Regions from separate parts of the Homo sapiens genome. Here all the other regions are linked to region 2. The links are contacts of gene promoters, found by promoter capture Hi-C in blood cells and fetal thymus (Javierre and others, 2016). All regions are on one chromosome and are shown on one strand. The core of a region is centred on a gene start or on the middle of the fragment in contact, and the rest is flanking DNA. Distances in the headings are between cores, read along the strand shown.

Region 1 (4,450 bases), core at 340-2,839, 930 kb after region 2:
AGCCTAATCCAGAGCAAAGCCCTACCTCTCTTCAATTTTATGAAGGCTGAGAGAGGTGAGGAAGCAGCAGAAGACAAGTTGGAAACCAGCAGAGGTTGGTTCATGAGGTATAAGGAAAGAAGCCATCTCCATAACATAAAAGTGCAAAGTGAGGCAGCAAGTGCTGATGTAGAAGCTGCAGCAAGTTATTCAGAAGACCTAGCTAAGATCATTAATGAAGGCAGCTAGATTAAACAACAGATTTTCAATGTAAATGAAACGGCCTTATATTGGCAGAAGATGCCATCTAGAACTTTCATAGCTACAGAAGAGAAGTCAATGCTGGCTTGAAACATCAAAGGACACGCTGACACTCTTGGCAGGGGCTAATGCAGCTGGTGACTTTGAGTTGAATCCGGTGTTCATTTACCATTCTGCAAATCCTAGGGAATTATGCTAAATCTACTCTGCATGTGTTCTCTAGATGGAACAACAAAACCTGGATGACAGCACGTTTACAGCATGGCTTACTGAATACTTTAAAGCCACTCTTGAGACCCATGCTCAAATTTCTCTCAAAATATTACTGTTCATGACAGTGCCTGTAGTCAACCAACAGCTCTGATGGAGGTGTACAAGGAGATTAATGTTTTTATGCCTGCTAGGACAACGTCCATTCTGCAGCCCATGAGTCAAAGCGTAATTCTGACTTTCAAGTCTTGTTATTTAAGAAACACGTTTCATAACACTATAGCTGCCGTAGGTATGCTTCCCCTGATGGAGCTAGGCAAAGTAAATTGAAAACTTTCTGGAAAGAATTCACAATTCTAGATGCCATTAAGAACATTTGTGATTCATGGGAAGAGGTCAAAATAGCAGCATTAACAGGAGTTTGGGCGGGCACAGTGGCTCGTGCTTGTAATCCCAGCATTTTGGGAGGCTGAGGAGGGCGGATGGCTTGAGTCCAGGAGTTTGAGACCAGCCTGGACAACATGGTAAAACCCCATCTCTACTAAAAATGCAAAAATTAGCTGGCTATGGTGCCGTGCACCTGTAGTCCCAGCTACTTTGGGGGCTGAGATGGGAGGATTACCTGAGCCCAGAAGTCGAGGCTGCAGTGAGCCAAGATCACACCACTGACCTCCAGCCTGGGTGACAAAGTGAGACCTTGTCTCAAAATAAAACAAGAGTTTGGAAGACGTTGGTCCCGACCCTCATGGATAACTTTGAGGGGTTCGAGACATCAGTAGAGGAAGGAACTGCAGATATGATAGAAATAGCAAGAGAACCAGAATTATAAGTGGAGCCTAAAGATGTGACTGGATTGCTACGATCTCATGAGAAAACTTGAACAGATGAGGAGTTGGTTCTTATGGCTGAGCAAATAAAGTGGTTTCTTGAAATGGAATAACTCCTGGTGAAGATGCTGTGAACACTGTTGAAATGACAACAGAGGATTTAGAATATTCCATAAACCCAGTTGATAAAACAGTGGCAGGCTTTGAGAGGACTGACTCCAATTTTGAAAGTTCTACTGTGGGTAAAATGCTGCCAAATAGCATCACAAGCTACAGAGAAATCTTTCATGAAAGGAAAAGTCCATCAATGTGACAAACTTCATTCTTGTTTCATATTAAGAAATTGGGCCAGGCACAATGGCTCATGCCTGTAATCCTAACACTTTGGGAGGCCAAGTGGGGAATATCACTTGAGGCCAGGAGTTCCAGACCAGCCTGGACAATAAAAAGAGACCTTGACTCTACAAAAAAATTAAAGAAATCAGCCAGACACAGTGGCACATGCCTGTAGTCCCAGTTACTCAGGAGGCTAAGGTGGGAGGATCCCTTGAACCCAGGAGTTTGAGGTTGCAGTGAACTATGATTGTGCCACTGCATGCTAGCCTGGGTAAAGAGTGAGACCCTATCTCAAAAAAAAAGAAAGAAAGAAATTGCCACAACCACTGCCAGTAACCACCACCCTGATCAGTCAACAGCCATCAACATCAAGGTAAGATCCTCCACCAGCAAAAAGACTATGACTTGCTGAAGGCTCAGATGATAGTTAGCATTTTTAGCAATGAAGTATTTTGAATTAAGATATGTACATTGCTTTTTAGATATCATGCTATTGCACACTTGAAAGCTACAGAATAGGGTAAACATACTTTTATTTGTTCAGGGAAACCAAAAAAATCATGTGACTCACTTTATTGCAATATCCATTTTATTGTGGTGATCTGGAACCAAACCCACAATACCTCAGAGGTATGCCTGTATTGATATGACTTGAATCATTTTAAATATGTTGAGATTTGTTTTATAGCTCACAATATAGTCAAATATGGTAAACATTCTGTATTTTTAAAAAAGTGTGTCCTCCTGTTGTTGAGTAGAGTGTCCTATAAATGTCAATTAGTTCAAGTTATCAATAGCATTGTTCAAGTTTTCATATTCATACTGACTTTCTATCTAATTGCTCTCAAAAATTATTGAAAAAGAGGTATTGAAATCTCTGATTTTCACTGTGTCTATTTCTCCTTCTGGTTCTATCAGATTTTCTTCATGCATTTTAGAGCTCTTTTGTTAGGTGCATTAACATTTAGAATTGTTTTTGTTCTCTTGGTGAATTGAAATCTTTATCATTATGAAATTGGCTTCCTAGCCATTTGTGGTGGCCCACACCTGTAATCCTAGCACTTTGGGAGGCTGGGGTGGGTGGAACACTTTGAGCTCAGGAGTTCAAGGTCAGCCTGGACAACATGGAGAAACCCTGTCTCTACAAAAAATACAAAAATGAGCCAGGCATGGTGGCTTATGCCTGTGGTCCCAGCTACTCAGGAGGCTAAGGTTGGAGGATCACTTGGCTCGGGAAGCGGAGGTTGCAGTGAGCCGAGATGGCAACACTGCACTCCAGCCTGGGTGACAGAGCGAGACCCTGTCTCAAAAAAAAAAAAAAAAAAAGAAAGAAAAGAAAAGAGGAGAGAGAGAGAGAGAGAAAGAAATTAGTGTCCTTATCCTTGGTAAAAATCTTCTGCCTTAAATCTTTTTTTATATTAATCCAGTTATTCCAGGCTTATTTTGAATAGTGTTAGCATGGCATACTGCTTTTCATTCTCTTACTTTTCATCTATTTCTGTATTTAAAGTGCATTTTGAGCCAGGTGTGGTAGTGCACGCCTGTAGTCCCAGTACTCAGGAGACTGAAGTGGGAGGATTGTTTGAGTCCAGGAGTTCAAGGCCAGCCTGGGCAACATAGTGAGAACCTGTCTTTAATTAATTAAAATTTTGAAATAATTGACTAAAAATAAAATAAAGTGCATTTTGTATAGACAGGAGATGCTTGGCTCACTTTTTTATCCAGCCTGTAACTTTTAATTGGAAGTTTAGATAATTTATATCTAATGTATTTATAATTTTGATTAGACTTAAGCTTATCCTGCTATTTGTTTTCCATTAGTTCTATCTGTTCTCTGTTATCTTTATCCTCTTTTCAGCCTTCTTTTGGATTACTTGAATATTTTTTATTATGTCGTTTTTATCTGCTTTTTTGGCTTGGTAGGTCTCATTGTTCTATTATTTTTGTGATTGCTTTAAGAATTACAGTATACATCTTTAATGTATCACAATCTACCTTTAATGATAGATATTATACCATTTCACGTCTAATATAGGAAACTTGCACTAGTACGCTTCTATTTTCTCCTTATGACCTTTGTGCTATTGTTGTCATACATTTTTCTTCTATAAATGTATAAAACCAACAATATGTTGTCATTCTTTTTATATTTAAGATGTGTAAACAATTTTTAAAATCTTACATATTTACCATGTAGTTACCATTTAAGATACTCTTCATTCTTTTGTGTATATCCATATTTCTACATGGTACAATTTTCCTTCTACTTGACATTTTCTTTAACATTTCCTGTAGTGCAGGTCTGTTGGTCATGAACTCCTTCAGCTTTTGTATTTCTAAAAACCTTTTAATTTTTACCCTCATTTTTAAAGATATTTTCACTAAGATAGAATTCTAGGTTGCAGGTTTTTTATTTTAGTACTTTAAAGATGTTGCTCCACTGTCTCTTTGCTTTTTCCTCACTGTTTCCAATAAGAAATGTGCTATTATTTTTATCTTTTTTCCTATGTACATAATTTCCCACCCCTGACCTCTGGCTGCTTTTTTTTTTCTTGTTTTTGGGGGGATGGGGCTTTGCCATGTTGCTGAGGCTGGTCTTGAACTCCTGGGCTCCAGCAATCCTCCCACCTCAACCTCCCAAGTAGCTGGGATTACAGATGTGCACTACCAAGGCTGGCTCTCCTCTGGCTGCTTTTAAGATTTTTCTCTTATCATCGATTTTGAGTAATTTGATTATGATGTGCTTTGGAATAGTTTTCCTTAGGTTTCTTGTGCTTGGACTTCGTTAAGTTTCTTAGGTGAGTTTACAGTTTTTATCAAACTTAGAAAAACATTTA
Region 2 (4,748 bases), core at 1,209-3,708:
GATTAGAGAGCAGGTGCCCCCCAAGCCAAGGCAGTGCCCTTTCAGCGTAAGCCTGTGACATTTTGACAGACTCCCTTGGGCGAGAATACCCTCCTCTGGCCTCCCTCCCTTTCCTAAACTGGGGAGGGCTGTGGTGGGGCTGGGGGCGGGGGTGGGAAGGGGGAAGAACCTGGATGGGGAAGGGAGGAGTCTAGGTATGTGTGTGGGTGGGGACACTGGGGCCCCCTAAGTGCTCCATGCAGTCCAGGGAGTCTCCTCTCTGCGGGACTTTGGCAAGAGCCTGGGAGGCCCTTGCCCCAGGGCTACCCAGCCCTGAGATCCTCCACCCCTCCTTGGCTTCTGGCTGAGAACTCAGCTCTTCCAGGTCTGCCTGCTGTTGGGATAATTTTGGAGGCTGAAGTCAGGGGCCTCGAAGGGAGGGAAGAGAGGAACCCTGGTCAGGAAGACCTTGGCGATCACCATGCAGTGGACATTGGCACCCAGGGTTGGGCCTGTCAGCCAGACACTCTCGTTCTAGGCCAAGGGCCTTGGGCAAAGGACCTTCCATCACTGAAGTTGGTTTCTTGACTTGAGGAAAGAGTCCACGGAAGAAAGTAGGGTCACAGGAATGCAAGGGCATGTGGCAGGCACACAGTGGGCACCCCAACTGCTCCCTACAGCCTGTCCCCAAAGCCGTTCCCAGCAGCCCCTACCTATCTGGGCATTCTGCAGATAACATCAGGGAAGGGATATCTTCCACCAGGGGCTGGGAGTTTCCCTCCAGCCTCCTTGGAGCCAGCCCAGAGCAGCTCTGGTCTCTGTCCATCCCTGTACCCATCCCGAGTGCCTTACTGGAGCACTGACTTAGGGGTGGTGGGCCTGGGGATGCCCATGGGCCTGCCTTCCCACATCTATGGCTAAGATGGGAAATCTGTGCTCAGACCTGCCAGGGCTGGACTAGAGGGCCAGGAGGTCAAAGCATCCAGCCTCCAGGTTCACAGTGGTGAGATCACACCCCCCTGCAGCACTGTGAAGAAGGGGAGGCCGCGAGCTGGGTGGGCACCCACTCCCTGCATCTAGGATATGTATGCAAATTAATATATGCAAATTAAGTATCCTAAACGACCCACCCAAAGATTGGGACGCCTGGGACCCTTCCCCCAGGAGGTGAAATATCTTTAATCCCCTCCTACCCCTCTCCCTCCCTATCTTTCTGAGCCTCCCCCATCCAGACTGGGTGCAGGGGTGCAGAGCTTTCCTCTCCAGCAGGGCTCTAAGCCTAAGCCGGGGGCAATGGGGAGGAGGGGTGTCTGAGGAGCACTCCCTCTCCCTGGGAGCTCTGCAGAGGAAGAGGGTCTCTGGCAATCAGCATCCTCTACCTCCACCTCTCCAGCGGGCGACCCCTCAGAGAAGGTCTCCCAGTGAGTCTGGAATACGTGCCGAGTGCCTGGAGTGCTATTGTGTGTATGTGAGAGCACATTGGTGAGGCTGCCCATGCATGCCACTGTGGACAAAGACAGATGCGATCGTGTGTGTGTGGGGACTGCGTATATGTTTTTGTCAGTGTGTGTGACCACGAGTCAGCTGGGTATGTGTGCTTGTGGGTATCAGGTGCATGGCTGTGCGTACATGTGTGCGTAAGAGTCGGTGCATTTGTGTTTCAGCGCGGCTAAGGCCCTGACTGAGATGCTGTGTGTGCGGGGGTGGGTGTGACTGAATGCGGGCACGGGTGTCCGTCTGTTTATACGTGTGTTTGCGTGTTTGGGTGTGCAGGTGGCTCTGCGTAAGCGTCTGTGTGCAGGGGGTCGGCACATGGGGGAGGATGCCCATGGTTGGGTAACCGCAGGTCCGCTTGACCCTCTGCCACCTAGGACTGTGTCTATACGGCGTCTGGGCTACAGTGTGTTTGAGTTGCCGTGTGCGTTTCCGTTGCGGGGTGTGGGTTGCCACGGGGCAACTGCATTTTTCTGCGTCTTCATGGCCAGGGGTACAGGGGGCGTCGGGCTTTTCCTGGGGGTTTTTCTGTGTGCGTGTGTAATTATGTGCTTAGTTCACATCTTCATAGTGCGCCTTTGTGTTTTCCTGGGTATCTAACCATTGCACGTGTGCCCGGGACTTCAGCGATAAGTGTTTCGGTGTTCCTGCGTGCGGATTTGTGCTCTCCGGGGAGGTCTGCGGCCCAGGTTCGATTCCTGCGACTTGTCCTAGGCAGGCCTGTATGTGCGCGGCGGCCGCGTGCTGTACAGTGTGAGGGAACGTGTACCAAACGCTCGCGGGATACCTGTGCCCGTCTAGCCAAGAGTGCACCCGTGTGCGCGAGCGGGCTTCTGGGACGCCGCCGTGGTCGGGGGCGGCCCTGCGAGGGGAGGGGGTCACAGGGACTGGCCGGCGCCGGCCCCGTGCGCACGGAGGCGGGGGCGGGGGGCGGGGGCCGCGAGGGGGGAGGCGGTACGAAAAGGGCGGCGCGCGCGGCGGCGGCGGCAGCTCCCCGGCAGCGGCGGTGGAGAGCGCAGCGCGCAGCCCGGTGCAGCCCTGGCTTTCCCCTCGCTGCGCGCCCGCGCCCCCTTTCGCGTCCGCAACCAGAAGCCCAGTGCGGCGCCAGGAGCCGGACCCGCGCCCGCACCGCTCCCGGGACCGCGACCCCGGCCGCCCAGAGATGACCGCGACCGAAGCCCTCCTGCGCGTCCTCTTGCTCCTGCTGGCTTTCGGCCACAGCACCTATGGTGAGTTCCCCGGCGGCCCGGCTCGCGCCCCCTCTGGGGAAGCCTGCGACTCCCCGCCGGCCGCCCGGTGCCCCGCACGCCCCGTCTCGTGAGCCCCAACTCCGCCCGTCCCGCCTAGCCCTAAGCCCCGCGCTGTGCCTGTCTCGCCCTACCCACCACGCTCGCATGCCAAGGCCCGTCCCAGGGGTCCCAGGGCGCAGGGGATGTGTGAGACCCCCAGCCCCTTCCCGCCCTGCAGAAGTGGCGCCAGAGGGGTGTCGGTGCGCTGAGCAAGGAGGTATGGAAAAATGGGGTGCTGTTGTGGAGTCTTCTATGAAAATACTCTGGGGTGCAACTTTGGGGTGTCCCTGTGTGAGCGTTCTGGAACAGGTCTCGGGGCGGGAGTGGGGGACGACTTTGCCGTCTTAGCCCCCAATTCCCAGAGAAGCCCAGCCTGAGCCCTTCCTGCGTGGCGCGTTTCTGTAGGTGAGGGGCTGCGACACTTCTGTCTGCAGCGGCCATCTGTCTCTGACAGCGAGAGAGTTGCCCCCTTCCTGCAGCGCCCCCCCACTCATTGCACCAGTGGTTGTAAGGGGGCTGTCTAGAAAGCTGGGGAGCTGGTTGAGTAAATGCACACAGTAGGTGCCTGTTAAAGTGTCAGAATCTCTAAGCAGTGTTGTTGCAACCTCAGCCCGCTAAGCAAAACCCTGTGTCGTCATCGTTTTTTTAATGCGAAGAGTCTGGGGTAGGGGAAAGAGGGAAGATTTGACCTGGGTGCCCGGCTTAATAGGGATGAACCTTAAAAAGAATGCAGACGCCTTACTGGGGCGCCCACCAGGTGAACCTGTCTGGGCTTTCCCGGAGTTGAACACCTCAAAATCTGCTCCTCTTTTCAGCTCAGGTTGCAAAAGTGACGGTCAGGCTGCATGCCCAGGGCTCAACATATTTCCCTCCACGGTCCCCGTCCCCGCTGTTAGGAGGACTTGAGGTGTCGTATTTGCTTTTGGGAGTCCGAGGAGAAGGTGTTTCTCCTGCTCCTAAGAACGAGGGAGAGTGTACTGTGGTCATTTCATTGCTGGGAACGTGGCAGAGATGTTTTTCCTGAGTGCACTGAGCCCCATCCATGCTCGGATAGGAAGTGCCTACTGTGTGCCAGGCTGGTAGGACCCAAGAGGGCTGTTGGTGCCCTCGAGGGCAGTGGTGGGCTGTGTGGGCGAAGACAGCCTTTGCCTTGGCCTGGGGCCTGGTGGGGTGAATTGTATAACCTTTCTTGTACCTCAGGGGCTGAATGCTTCCCGGCCTGCAACCCCCAAAATGGATTCTGCGAGGATGACAATGTTTGCAGGTAATAGAGTGGCTCCTCAGAGGCAGCTTGTAGGGGCCACGCAGAAGCCTGGGGAGTCGTGAAGTCAGGCAGAAAAAAATAGGGGGCTTGGCCACTACGCTGCAGCAAACAGCTTCCGGGCCCCTGCAGAAAACTGGTGGGGCGAGCTGGGGAGATGGGGGGGGCGGGGGGGGGGCAGCCACAGCTCCTGTCTGCGTTCTCAGAGGTGGGGGGGCAGGTGGGACCACTGCAGGCCACTGCGGCAAAACGCAGCACTCCCCCGGGATCTCGGGGCCCCTCCAAGTCGGCCCCCTCAGCTTGGCATGTTTTCTCTTTAAGTTTTCCCATTCAGGTGGCTGGTGTTTACTTCCCAGGACCACCGGCTGCCACTGTGCAAAGACCCCCAAGGGTCCTTGGTTCCACAGAAAGTAGCCTGAGCTGCCTCTCTACCCCTGCCCTCTTCATATGTCCCCACCTTTCTCCCCCACCCATTGCAGGTGCCAGCCTGGCTGGCAGGGTCCCCTTTGTGACCAGTGCGTGACCTCTCCCGGCTGCCTTCACGGACTCTGTGGAGAACCCGGGCAGTGCATTTGCACCGACGGCTGGGACGGGGAGCTCTGTGATAGAGGTTGGCACTCGCCTTTGTTCACCTCAGCTCTGCGTCCTTACCTGCCTGCCCTAGCCCCTACCACCTCCTCCCAGTCTCCTGTTGCTGGTGTTCCTCACTTCCTCATTCCTGCACA
Region 3 (4,374 bases), core at 458-2,957, 900 kb after region 2:
GCCTGTGGGGATCAGAGGTCAATAGATGCAGCCTCCAATGGTCTGAGGCTCCCTGACTTTCCTCCCGCCTTCTCTCCGTGTGTAATCCCAGCCCAGGGCCACCCTTTGGTGGCAAACACAGACACCCCTGTGTCAGCCATACGTATTCAGCCAAGGCTTTATGAGTACCTTCCACTTAGGAACCCTCACTTCTGTCTCTGCCTTCCCTTGCGATTATGAGTCCCAGCAATGGCAGCTGAGCACTCAGGATGCCCACTCCTGGCTCTGACTTTACGTCACTTTCTCAACACGTTACAGGTGAAGAGCCTGCCAAGTGGCCGAGCCACGATTTGGCCCCAGAGCCCAAGTTCTGTTCTTTCCTTGGGTCTCTGCTGTCTGCCCAGGCCTGAGCATGGTCCCTCAGACAGGCTCAGGAAGTATTTGTGGATGAATCAATGAACGACCCCGTGAGGGCCTTTGCCTTTCTCCCCTGCCAGGCTGGGAGCCCCCAGAAGACAAGTGGGGTTGACCATGTGCCTGGAAGGAGTCACGGCTCCTCTCTAGACCGGAACTCCCCACTAGAGCGATGGGGTGCCACAGGGTATCCCAGCAGGCCCGGCAAGCACATCACAGGAGCGTGGAGAAGCGGGACCAGCCGTGCCCCCATCCCTGGGAGCCCTGCCCCCAGCCTTGTCTAAGGCCTCACTTGCCCCATATCTGGTTTGGGGAGCAGGTTTCTCACCCCAATATGATTCTGTTCTCTGCCCCCTCTGCCCTCCTACCCCACACATCCCAGCGTGGATGGACGAGACTTCGCCCCTGCCTCCTGCCCGGGCCCCTGCCATGGGAAGGGGACGCATTATTGCTCTCTCTCAGGGCTATTCAGACACCAACTAATTTATTTCCCTCCTGCCCCCTTCCTTATTGATCAATGCTTTAGCTGAGTGGCTGTTAAATGACTTGTTCCCATAGCAACCATCAGATACATGCTCGGATCTGATGTGTCTGTTTCCTGAGCCAGATCGCCTCCTAAGAGCTTGGAGAGAACAAATCTCCTTTCATATCCGTCGCTGTCTTCTGAAAGGCACAGGATATTGTTCAGAACAAGTCATTTTTTAAAACAATATTAAAAAAAGAACTAGGTTTTTCAACAGATATAAAGTTGTTTCATAAGGTGCATCATTCTTAAGAAGTATTAAATCAGATTTTAAAAGCTTTGACCAAGTTAATCTTTCTTCTGCCTACTTTTCCTTCTGCACAGGGGGAAGTATGGAAACGGTCTCTGCATAAAGATACTCTGCTGCATCATTTATAAAAAGAAAAATTGAAAACAGCCTAAAAGCACAATAGACGATTCAAATGATCTATGGTTCACATACCTGTGAGGGTTTTATAGAGATGCTGAAACGCTGCTTAGAAGAGAGAAACACACATGTCAACAACGTGAAGTGAAAAAAAAGAAACAAGATTAAAAACTGTGTCTGCACGGGTGAGCATAATGAATGGAAAACAAAGCTAAATTATGTAGAGGAAAAAATACTCAGGAAAACAAACACAGTGAAATGTTGACAGAAGTGTTTCTTGTTGGCAGAGCCATGGGATTTTCTTCCTTATTCACTTACTTAATACATATTTATTGAGCACCTACTACGAGCCCAGCCCTGTCTGAGGCATTAACAGCACAACTGCTATTTCTACTGCCTATATTTTCCCAAATGTGTTTAAAACTGTTTTAAAACTATGTATTTTTTTCTTATTTTTGTTTGTTTGTTTGTTTGTTCTGAGACAGGCTCAAGTGATCCTCCCACCTCAGCCTCCCCAGTAGCTGGGACTACAGGCGTGCACTACTACACCCCACTAATTTTTGTATTTTTTGTAGAAACAGGGTCTCGTTGTGCTGCCCAAGCTAGCCTCGAGCTCCGGGCCTCAAGCAATCCACCCACCTCAGCTTCCCAAGCTCTGGGATTACAGGTGTGAGCCACCGTGCCCAGCCAAGTATAATTTTTTTTAATGACAGGGTACATGTTTCACCTGCCACGTTGCCAACAAATAAACATAAGACGCTCTGTTGGTGAGGAGAGGATATAGGAACACCAGCCCCGCCTGGCAGAAGAATGAATGACCACGACCAATAAAGGACCAGTTATCAACACTTAAAACCGACATACTTTTTCCCAGCAATTCCACCTGTAGTCATTGTCCCTACTGGGATTCTCTCCCACCTTTGTCGTGGGATGTTTACGAAGCTTGTTTACCGTGGCATGTGACTGCTGGAACCCCGAATGGTCCTCGCCAGGGGATGGCTACCCAGATCGTGGTTCAGACTCAGGAAAACACTGAGCCCTGAGAAGAACGAGGCGATCTGCCAGTGTGTGGAACACTAAGCTGAGGTCCCTAAGGGACAGAGCAAGGCGGATCACTTGAGATCAGGAATTCGAGACCAGCCTGGCCAACATGGTGAAACCCTGTCTCTACTAAACATACAAAAATTAGCCGGGCGTGGTGGCGGGCACCTGTAATCCCAGCTCCTTGGGAGGCTGAAGCAGGAGAATCCCTTGAACCTGGGAGGTGGAGGTTGCAGTGAGCCGAGATCATGCCCAAGATCTCTGCTCTTCCCCCGTCTTGCCTTAGTGATCCTGGGCATGTCCCTTCACCTCTGCGGCCTCAGTTTCTCATCTGCACAGTGAAGATGCTGATGCCCGCCTGGCTGATGCCCGCCTGGCTGCTTCCTGGACAGATTTCCCAGGATGTGCTGTGTGACAGGCCTTCCACACAGGCCCTCAGGCACCTTTTCTTCTTCCTGAGATGGAAACAACAAAAAAGTTGGTGCATGGTCACCAGCGATCCCCAAACTACGACCTCTGCCCTCTTTTCCTGCAGACCCCTCAAAAATCACGAAAGGGGCCCTTGCAATAGGGGGTCTCTATGGACTCAAACAAAGGGCTTTCCCTGGGAGGGGCTGCCGGCCTTTGCCTATAACATGCGTGATGTAGTTTTTAAGACTAGCAAAAGCCCAGCCTGGCATTATCTAGCATTGAGGTACAGCGTCTCACGGAAAGTTCTTTTTTATTCCCCAGGCTGTCCCCTTCTCCTCCATTCCCGGATAAGCCTTCACTCACCTCTGCACCTCACCAGCATCCACTCAGAGAGACCCAGCCCCTCAAACCCAGCCAGCAGGGACCACGCTGCACATTAAGTTTGCTCAACTGCTCCAGGTTATTTGAAAACTTATGAAACCTTTTTCTTAAAAAAATCAAAGTCCCATTGTGAGAGGGAATCCAGTACTTTCTTAAAAGTACTAACTCAGCAGCTGCAGGAATCTTCCTGACCTAAAGAAAGAGGAAGGAGAAAAAACACAATCACCCCTGGCTTCTGACACGCATACTCCTGGCTGGATTCTAGATTAGAACAAAGGGGACATAGGTCACGGAGCCATTTCTGTGCCTAGACACCACCTTTGATTTTGCAGGGTGGCGCACCAGGGCTTAGCCACAAGGGGGTCGTGATTCAGTGGGTATGAACTCCAGTGGGGGAGTGCGGGGAGAGACAGCAGGCCAGTGGTCCTTCGGGGAAGATGCGGGAGGGGGTTCTTTTTTAATTTTTCTGGTCTGTTCCACATAACTGAATGCCAGGGACCCAACCTGGATGGGTAGGGGGTGCCAGGTGCAGACCTGACTCTGCACTAGGAAGGAATGCTTGTCACCACCGGCAGGCATGTGTGCTTCTCAGCCCGTCCCAGAGGACAATCCCGAACCACTGATCCAAAGCCTTAAAACCCTGCAGAACTTTTGACCCAGGCCCCACTGCTAGGAATGAATAACATAGTAAAGATAGGTGGGACGATTGAGCTACCAGCGTGTTTATGACTACCACGTTTTCAGCAGGTGAAGTGCAAAGTGCCTAATGTTCACAAGAGGGGCTGAGTTGAGCAAAAGCAAATTTCAGTTCAGCCATACCCTAAAATATGAATACAAATATTGCCGTGGCTAATACCATGAAAACTTGGTCTCATCAAACCGTCTAGCAGATTACAAGCACTCTGGACAGTATGTTACTATGCAGAGACATAGGAAAATGTCTACGAAGAAATACACCAAAATGTTAATGACAGTCATCTCTGAGTGACTTCTCTTTGTTAATATCTCTGCATGTTCTGATGTTTCCCACAATAAACTGATGTATCTTTTGTTGATTTCAGAGCGTGGCCTTGAGGATGTTCCTTCACCTCTCTGAGCTTCAGGCTCCTCACCTGTACAATGAAGACAGCACCTGCCTCATGGATTTGCTAATATATGCAAAATGCATAGCTTGCTGCCTGGAAGATAATAAGTACCCAAATGTTAGCTGTTTTTATTTTTCGCTCAATTTTCTACATATAAACATGTCATTGTGCTC

What was found. The method cuts DNA at HindIII sites, captures the fragments that hold promoters and counts their contacts. A CHiCAGO score of 5 or more calls a contact.
Region 1: a contact is called between a fragment that was not itself captured here and the fragment with the promoter of DLK1 in region 2, in 2 of 17 cell types (M1 macrophages and M0 macrophages). The highest score is 5.8, in M1 macrophages.
Region 3: a contact is called between a fragment that was not itself captured here and the fragment with the promoter of DLK1 in region 2, in 7 of 17 cell types (endothelial precursors, M0 macrophages, fetal thymus and 4 more). The highest score is 10.3, in endothelial precursors.

Annotation. Positions count from the first base shown.
Region 1 is chr14:101,655,390-101,659,839 of GRCh38, forward strand. All of the region lies in intron 1 of LINC02320 (long intergenic non-protein coding RNA 2320), which reads right to left. Among named protein-coding and RNA genes, the nearest start is that of LINC00239, 73 kb to the right of the region's middle. The HindIII fragment of the contact is 3,632 bases long and covers 1-3,405 here.
Region 2 is chr14:100,724,434-100,729,181 of GRCh38, forward strand. DLK1 (delta like non-canonical Notch ligand 1) reads left to right here and starts at 2,459. Exons shown (of 5, transcript NM_003836.7): 1 at 2,459-2,702; 2 at 3,963-4,026; 3 at 4,503-4,633. The coding sequence starts at 2,636. The HindIII fragment of the contact is 10,517 bases long and covers 1-4,748 here.
Region 3 is chr14:101,629,808-101,634,181 of GRCh38, forward strand. LINC02320 (long intergenic non-protein coding RNA 2320) reads right to left here. Exons shown (of 6, transcript NR_184269.1): 4 at 3,099-3,308; 5 at 2,606-2,779. Among named protein-coding and RNA genes, the nearest start is that of DIO3, 70 kb to the left of the region's middle. The HindIII fragment of the contact is 1,032 bases long and covers 1,192-2,223 here.